2 separate regions of the Homo sapiens genome follow, and region 2 is linked to region 1. The links are contacts of gene promoters, found by promoter capture Hi-C in human tissues and cell types (Jung and others, 2019). All regions are on one chromosome and are shown on one strand. Each heading gives the region's core, a stretch centred on a gene start or on the middle of the fragment in contact. The rest is flanking DNA. Distances are from core to core; before and after follow the strand shown. Region 1 holds the start of PRPH2 (peripherin 2). Region 2 overlaps BICRAL (BICRA like chromatin remodeling complex associated protein).

The links. Contacts are between HindIII fragments. The study calls those that stand out against the background at their distance.
Region 2: a fragment that was not itself captured here is called in contact with the fragment with the promoter of PRPH2 in region 1 in 2 of the 25 tissues and cell types used here (heart right ventricle and spleen).

Annotation. Positions count from the first base shown.
Region 1 is chr6:42,720,235-42,724,775 of GRCh38, reverse strand. It overlaps PRPH2 (peripherin 2), which reads left to right and starts at 2,179. Exons shown (of 3, transcript NM_000322.5): 1 at 2,179-3,022. The coding sequence starts at 2,442. The HindIII fragment of the contact is 25,287 bases long and covers 1-4,541 here.
Region 2 is chr6:42,851,428-42,855,968 of GRCh38, reverse strand. It overlaps BICRAL (BICRA like chromatin remodeling complex associated protein), which reads right to left. Exons shown (of 13, transcript NM_001393499.1): 7 at 3,772-3,877; 8 at 2,231-2,331; 9 at 52-113. Among named protein-coding and RNA genes, the nearest start is that of RPL7L1, 26 kb to the left of the region's middle. The HindIII fragment of the contact is 4,425 bases long and covers 486-4,541 here.

The DNA.
Region 1 (4,541 bases), core at 930-3,429:
ACCTGCACGTGGATGTTTATAGCAGTTTTATTCATAATTGTCAAAAACTGGAATCAACCAGGATATTCTCTGATAGGTGAAGGAATAAACCGTGGTACATCCATGTGATGAAACGTTATTCAGTGATAAGAAGAAATGAGCTATTAAGCCGTGAAAAGATACAGAGAATCATTAATCACATATATTGCTAAGGGAAAGAAGCCAGTCTGAAAAGGCTACATGTTGTATGATTCCAACTGTAAGATATTCTAGATAAGGCAAAACTATAGATCTAGACGGTGGTTGCCCAGGGCTGAGGAGTGAGGGAAGGAGGAATGAATAGGCAGAACATGGCAGGTTATTAGAGTAGTGGAAGTATTCTGTATGATACAATAATGATGAATACATGACATTATGCATTTGGCAAAAGTGACAGAATTATATGCACAAAGACTGAACCTTAATGTAAACTATAGACTTTAGTTAATAATAGTGCATCAATATTGGTTCATTAATTGTAACAAATGTACCACATTAATGCAAGATATTAATTAGAGGAGAAACTGGTTGGGGAGATGGAGAATAATGGGAACTCCCTGTATTTTCTGTTCAATTTTTTTGTAAACCTAAAACTACTGTAAGAAATAATCCATTAATTAATAATAATAATAAATGTACAGATTCACCAAGAGTGTACACTTCTACTTCCACTCTCTTTGTTGATGTATGGTGACAGAATTTTGACATACATTCAATTTGATGGATCGAGTTTGGTCTTTTTCTTTTTTTGAGACGTCATTTCACTCTTGTCACCCAGGCTGGAGTGCAATGGCGCAATCTTGGCTCACTGCAACCTCCACTTCCCGGGTTCAATTGATGCTCCTTCCTCAGCCTCACAAGTAACTGGGATTACAGGTGCCTGTCACCATACCCAGACAATTTTTGTATTTTTAGTAGAGACAGGGTTTCACCATGTTGGCCAGGCTGGTCTTGAATGCCTGACCTCAAGTGATCCACCCACCTTGGCCTTCCAAACTGCTGGGATTACAGGTGTGAACCACTGTGCCCGGCCAAGTTTGGTATTTTATTGTTGTTTGGATTTGCATTTTCCTGCTTATTACCCAAGTTGAGATCTTTTCCAGATTATTGGACTTTTCAAGTTTCCTAATTATGAATTGTCTGTTCCTGGTTTTTGCCTATTTTTCCAGTTGATTATTGGTCTTTTGATTGTGAATTTTTGTTTATTGTGAATTTGTGAGACTTAAAACATTTTTGCATATTAATTCTTTTTTTTTTTTTTCCAGACAGAGTCTCACTGTCACCCAGGCTGGAGTGCAATGTGGGGATCTCAGTTCAGTGCAACCTCCACCTCCTGGGCTCAAGCGATCCACCTGCCTTGGCCTCCCAAAGTACTGGGATTACAGGCATAAGCCACCATGCCTGGCCACTGTATATTACTTTTTAATTTTACAAGTTGCAAATGTTTTCTCACGATCTGTCACTTTCTTTCTTTCCTTCCTTCTTCTCTTCTTTTCTTTGTCTTTTTAAAATTTGAGACAGGGCCTCACTCTGTCACCCAGGCTGGAGTGCAGTGGCACGATCATGGCTCAGTGCAGCCTTGAACTCCCCAGGCTCAGGTGATCTTGCCACCTCAGCCTCCAGAGTAGCTGGGAGAACTACAGGTGCATGCCACCATACCCAGCTAATTTTTTTTTTTTTTTTTTTGTGTGTGTGTGTGTGTGTGTGGAGATGGGGTCTTCCTATGTAGCCCAGGCTGGTCTTGAACTCCTGGGCTCAAGTGATCCACCCAACTTGGTCTCCCAAAGTGCTGGGATTATAGGCGTGATCCACTGTGCCTGGCCCTGTCATTTCTTTTCTCAGAGAGGATAACAATTTATTTGTCCTACAGAAAGTTTTAAATGTTGAAGGAGATTGGCCTGGAAATATGCTTTTGGGGAGCAACACGGTCTGAGCCAGACATCCAGATACAGCCCATTCTTCTGGCCAGTCTTGCCCTTTGCTCCTGATTCTCCAAGCTGTACCCAGAGCTTTCTGGTTCAGCATGTACCTGGAGGCTGCTTTTGACCATGTTTTGAGAGTGGCATGGCTTTATCTAATGGGATGAACCTGGCTAAAGAGATTAGCAAAATGTCTTGTGGATCCCACTTTTAATCTGCAGCGTTCAGGCTGCCCCTTCTTGGCTGGGAAGGGCGCTGAAGAAACAACGCCCAGGACCAGGACTATCCCCTGCTCAAGCTGTGATTCCGAGACCCCTGCCACCACTACTGCATTCACGGGGATCCCAGGCTAGTGGGACTCGACATGGGTAGCCCCCAGGGCAGCTCCCTACAGCTTGGGCCATCTGCACTTTTCCCAAGGCCCTAAGTCTCCGCCTCTGGGCTCGTTAAGGTTTGGGGTGGGAGCTGTGCTGTGGGAAGCAACCCGGACTACACTTGGCAAGCATGGCGCTACTGAAAGTCAAGTTTGACCAGAAGAAGCGGGTCAAGTTGGCCCAAGGGCTCTGGCTCATGAACTGGTTCTCCGTGTTGGCTGGCATCATCATCTTCAGCCTAGGACTGTTCCTGAAGATTGAACTCCGAAAGAGGAGCGATGTGATGAATAATTCTGAGAGCCATTTTGTGCCCAACTCATTGATAGGGATGGGGGTGCTATCCTGTGTCTTCAACTCGCTGGCTGGGAAGATCTGCTACGACGCCCTGGACCCAGCCAAGTATGCCAGATGGAAGCCCTGGCTGAAGCCGTACCTGGCTATCTGTGTTCTCTTCAACATCATCCTCTTCCTTGTGGCTCTCTGCTGCTTTCTGCTTCGGGGCTCGCTGGAGAACACCCTGGGCCAAGGGCTCAAGAACGGCATGAAGTACTACCGGGACACAGACACCCCTGGCAGGTGTTTCATGAAGAAGACCATCGACATGCTGCAGATCGAGTTCAAATGCTGCGGCAACAACGGTTTTCGGGACTGGTTTGAGATTCAGTGGATCAGCAATCGCTACCTGGACTTTTCCTCCAAAGAAGTCAAAGAGTGAGTGGCTTCCAGTCCTGGGGTCAGAGCTATGAATATATTGGGGACACTGAGGCTCAGGCCTCTGACCAGCCCCTCTCCCCGCACCCAGTGCCTTTTCCTCTCCATCGGGTGCACAACTTATTGCTGCGTATGTGAGGGTGTATCAGGTGGAACCATATGAAATTGCTAATATTCTACCTCTTTGACCCATAAAAAATGACAACTTCATAGGGTTCAACCTAACATTGGCTAAGGTGGTAGGAAGGTATCAATTTATATAAGCTGTTTGGATAGGAGCCCCTTGGGATGAAGAGCCAGGCAGCAATGTGTGTCCACTTTATACAGAGGGATGGAAGTCATTCATAGATCACAAACACTGAGGTACTATTTGGCTATTTGTCCCATTCATTCAAAGTAGATGGATTCAGTCCCAGAAGTTTAAATTTCCTAGTTAGTTCCCTTGTTTTCCAACCTTTCAACCCTGAGCATCCATTCCCAAGATGTTTGTCTGGATATGTTGGAAAGAGCATAGGAAGGGGAAGTCATGAGATCTAGGGTGAAGTTTTGGTTCTGTTGTTCAAGGTCTTGTGACCTTGGGCAGGTCACTAGTCACTCTGCGCTTTGGCTTGCCCATCTTTTAAATGAGCACTGGAATAGAATAGGTAATTTTGGAAGTCACCTCCTAGCCCTGCCTGGTAGCTGGCATGCAGCAGGTACTCATTAAATGCTTGCTGGTGTTTACTTAGCGAGTCATGATAGTGCAATGTGATAAAGCATTTCTAAAGTATTCTTGGCATATGTAAAAGTAAAATGCTGCGATGGGCTGTGGGAGGTGCTGGTGAGAGAGAGACTCTCGACCACTGTGTCGGAGGGAACAGCCTGTGCACTGGCTCCAGCGGGCTGCTCTTCCCAACACACCCACCAACCTGGGGCTCGAGTGACTTTTCAGGGAAAGGGCAGCCTGCCTTGAGGCAGCCGCTTTCCCTCACCTCTTCTTTCTGTCTGACTCGACCCTACCTGGCTGAGGTTAGGGGTTCAGTTATTCCTAAGGGTGGTTTTTTTTTCTTCCCAGTGAGGCTGGCAAGTCCAAAGGGAACTTGAACTCAGGGCATTGGCACCAGCAGCAGGACATGTTTGAAGCCCAAAACAACATTAATGACGCCCAAATAGCTAGCTTATATCTGCCCTGCAGATGGAAGGGACGTCCAAGTGAAGGTCACTTCTTGGGATTTTATTTTCTTGTGGATGGAGATTACTGCTGCAAATCCCCAGTCAGGAGAGGATTGTAAAGGGCTGTGCCCTTCCCAGGTGACAGGTCTGCAGGGGCAGCACAAGATGCCACGATTTACATAAATCTCCCGAGGAGGGCATGAAGCCAGGGGGACAAGCAGAATTCTGGGGAGTGGGAGAGGCCGATGGTAGAACCAGCCTCTGTGAGCAGAGGCTCACAGAGAAGGGGCTTTTCATCTTTTCCTCTATCATTTCCCTTGATTGTCTCCTGCATAGAGTCAGTTCTTGGACAGATGTATTCAAATCT
Region 2 (4,541 bases), core at 1,449-3,948, 130 kb before region 1:
GGACCCAAAGAAGTGTTCAGAATTGATTTGTCATTTCCGAGAGTAACTCACAAAGCTCCTTTCGTTAGCTGTTTCGCAGCAGGCCTTTTTTGTCCTCCCGAATGACTCTCCACCTAAAGACAAAACAAACCTCTTATTATTCCCTTTTATAGAAAAAAGAATACAGTTATACATAAAGGTCACTATAGTTCACATATTTTCAACTACCTATCAAGAACATATTCTAAGACTACAGAATGTGCCCTGCTGAAAAATAAAAAAAAAAAAACCAGTACACAGAGTCCATGAAACAAAGTTGTACTGTGTTAAGATTACAGAAAGGTGTATAATCGGTTCCTGAGAGGGACTCAGTTTGCACTTTAAAGCCTGAATGCCTACCTCCTCTCTAAATGCACCATCATCATCATCATCATCATCATCATGTTTTTTGACAGGGTCGTGCTCTGTCGTCCAGGCTGGAGTGTGGTGGTACAATCTCGGCTCACTGCAACCTCTGCTTCCCAGGCTCAAGTGATCCTCCCACCTCAGCCTCCCAGGTAGCTGGGACTACAGGTATGCACCACCACGCCTGTTAATTTTTTGGTATTTTTTGTAGAGACGGAGTTTTGCCATATTTTCCAGGCTTGTCTCGAACTCCTGGACTCAAGCCATCCGCCTGCCTTGGCCTCCCAAAGTGTTGGGATTACAGGTGTGAGCCACAGCACTGACCCATCGTTATATTTTTGAAATTCCACAGACATCTGAAAAGTCAGTAGATACTATCTAATCCATCTTCTCAGTGTAAGTATGGGATACACACTTTTAAGCTCCTGTTATATATAGTCCAGGTGTGTGATCTAACGAGGCATTTTTTACATCATGTTAAGGAAACAAATAGGCCTTATCTCAGAACCTTAGAACTGAACAGATCCTTCACTGTGTATTCCAGGCAGTCCCACACTGCAGCAAGTTTCATTCAACCACTAATTGGTAGGTCTGATGGAAACGAAACTGTCTTAGTAAGCTGAAAACAAGAAATGTTTCCTTCCATTTTAGACTAGTAGTTTGAAATCTTTTAGGTTTAAAAGCCAAACTTGAAGTTATCAAATGTGCCCTGAAAATATGTACATCTATCATGTATCAAAAAAACAAACAAACAAAAAAAACTAGGCCAGGAGTGGTTGCTTAAGCCTGTAATTCTAGCACTTTGGTAGGCTGAGGTGGGAGAATTGCTTGAGCCCAGGAGTTTCAGACCAGCCTGGCCAACATGGCAAAACGTTTTCTCTTAAAAAAAATATAAAAATATTAGCCAGGCGTGGTGGTGCGTGCCTGTAGTCCCAGCTACTCAGGAAGCTGAGGTGGGAGGATCGCATGAGCCCAGGTGATCGAGGCTTCAGTGAGCTGTGATCACACCACTGCAGCACAGTCTGAGTGACAGGGTGAGACCCCAACTCAAAACAAAACAAAAACAAAAACAAAAACAAAACAAAAAACCCAGCTGGACTAGACAGGGCACAGTGGCTCACACCTGTAATCCAGGTACTTTGGGAGGCTGAGGTGGGTGGATGGCTTGGGCCCAGGAGTTTGAGACAGGTGTGAGCAACATGGCAAAATCCTATCTCTACAAAAAATACAAAAAAACAGCTGGGCATTGTCCTAGCTACCCAGAAGGCTGAGGCAGGAGGGTCACCTGAGCCTGGGAGGTCAAGGCTGCAGTAAGCTGTGATTGCACTACTGCATGCCAGCCTGGGTGACAGAGTGAGACCCTGTCTCAAACAAAAACCAAAAAGTTGGACTTTAAAAAGTGTCAAAGTTGGGTCAAAAGACCGTAGGGATGGCCTACTTCCTATACGCCTGGTTACTACTACAGAAAAACAAAAATCCCTCAGTATAACTAAGAAGAAGAGATTCGCTTTGATATAATAGTGAACGATATCACCTAGTAGTAAATGACATTTTTTGAGTGCCTAGTATGTACTAGCTGCTGGTATATTACTAATTCATGAGGAAATGATGGATTAATGAAGCACTGTAAACATGTCAGAAATAGAATAGACATTCATCTCAGAAACATAAACATAACAAGGCCCAGCCCACCAGGAAGGTCTTCAATGACCACCCTGTTGTGGGCACACAGGGGACTGGGTGGACTGTGCACACAAAGCTAGCCAGCAACCACAAAGATAGCACGACTACATTTTCATTCAATTATGCCGAACATTAGGAAGAGGCTATGCCAATAGTTTTCTACCTGCACAGCTGGATGGCCAGGAGATGATCCAACTACTTTTTCCTGCTGTGGTTGTGCGGTTCCTAAGGATGCGGATATAACTTTGCTTCCAGAATCCTGCCCTATTAGAATTAATACATGAGACAGTGTTCAAAAGAAACAGTAAATTGGGTCCATCATATAACCCTAGAACCCAATGGGTACAGACTGTTGAGCATTCTGAAACGGGTTTCTTTATCATGGCTGCTTGCTGTGAAGAAGGAGGGCAGGGTAGTGCATTTACTTACAAGCTCTAAAGGAAGAGGTTATTAAAGCCTATTTAAGTAATAAATAAGTAAATAGTAATAAATAGAAGCTCCAAATGCTATAGTTTCAAATTATTTATAGTCTGAAAAACAGGCCTCAAGCCAGTAATCTGTCAGCACTACAGAATCCCAAAATACAATTTAAGGAAAGGGAGGCCCAAAGAGGCAATTGACTGGGAATATTCAAGCTTTTTCTCTTTCTTGCCTTTTTTTTTTTAAGTACTAATTGGGTACTGCAGATGTTCAAAGCCTTAGAAAAAACGGAAGACATAGTCCATAATATTTTCAGTCTGGGTGGAGAATTCCAAACATGCATGTAGAGAGCAACATGGGGATAATTTCAAAGTCACAAGTACTGTAAAATACCTTTTCTTTTTTTTTTTTTTTTTTGAGACAAGGTCTTGTTCTGTCGCCCAGGCTGGAGTGCAGTGGCGCAATCATAGCTCACTGCAGCCTCGACCTCCCAGGCTCAGGTGATCCTCCTGCCTCAGCCTCCTGGGTAGCTAGGACAATGCCCAGCTAGTACAGACAGGGTTTCACCATGTTGGCCAGGCTGGTCTTGATCTCCTGACCTCATGATCTGCCCGCCTCGGCCTCCCAAAGTGCTGGGATTACAGGTGTGAGCCACCGTGCCCGGCCTCAATTTATTGTTTCTAAGAAGTATTTTTTTTCCACATAATTTAATGTGTCATAATTTAGATAGAAGTGCTTGTTTTTCTTTTTGGTAGTATAAAAAATGATAGTACATCTTACAATTGATGCTATCTTAGTGGGGTTTTTTTTTTTTTTTTTTGAGACAGAGTCTCGCCCTGTCACCCAGACTGGAATGCAGTGGTGTGATCTCAGCTCACTGCAAGCTCTGCCTCCCGGGTTCAAGCGATTCTCCTGCCTCAGCCTCCTGAGTAGCTGGGATTACGGGCGTGTGCCACCATGCCTGGCTAATTTTTGTATTTTTAGTAGAGATGGGGTTTCATCATGTTGGTCGGGCTGGTCTTGAACTCCTGATCTCAGGTGATCCACTCTCCTTGGCCTCCCAAAGTGCTGGCATTACAGGCGTGAGCCACCGTGCCCGGCCCAATGCTATCTTAGAGTTGATGCAACACAGTATATTATTTGCGGAAAGGATACAGAAAGAAAGGAATAATCGGAGTGGAGACGAGATTAAGCCAGAAAGCTTTCGTGCAGAATGAGGGAGAAAAGTGAGAAGAGCATCCCGTGGTGTTGGGAGGACAGGGACAAACTGAGGAAGCTCCTGACCTGGCAGTGTGGTGCTCAAGAGCCCAGGGATCTGTGCTTGCCTCAGGCCGTCTGTGGTCTTGGGAGCAGAAATGGGGGAAGTCTGATTCAGACATTTTTTCTGAGCCTGTGAAACATGACAAAGATGAAAACATTAATTTCATTTCTAAAGCTTTAACAGATTATTTTAAATACCAACCAAGCCTCTTCATGCCTCCCTGGTACCTTCAGGTTAGATTATAAACAAACCAAAAATTTAATAATTGTATTTTCTTATCACTTCAGGGGAACTGCAAAGTACATCCTTTAACAATCTGCAGGCACACTGAATTTTCCTGATGCCATTCAGCGGGGATGCTGAGTTGATACCAGGCTATTTTCTTGCTCCCGGGGCTGCTGTGTTTGTGGTGCTCAGATGAAAAAGCTGCAGCTGGGAATTTCTACCCCCAGTAACCTTATATCCTGCCTGCTAGGATTATGATCCTGACTATCAGCTCCTATGTGGGGTCTGCACAGACTCCAAGCACCTGGTCAGGGACCAAGGGCCAACCCCAAATTTTTTGTCACCACTCATTGTTTTGCTGTGTAGATGATATAAAGTATATTTCATCACTACCATCTGGTATATCTCTAGTTTGTGTTGTGTCAACATCAGGTGGCATGCAATTGAGAAATGAAAATCAATTTAATATTAGCCTGAGCAAAATATAATTAGAAAAATTAATCCAATGTTTAAATTGTTGTGTGTTTCTTTTCTATAAATGGGGAAGATGAAATGGATAATGTTTAAG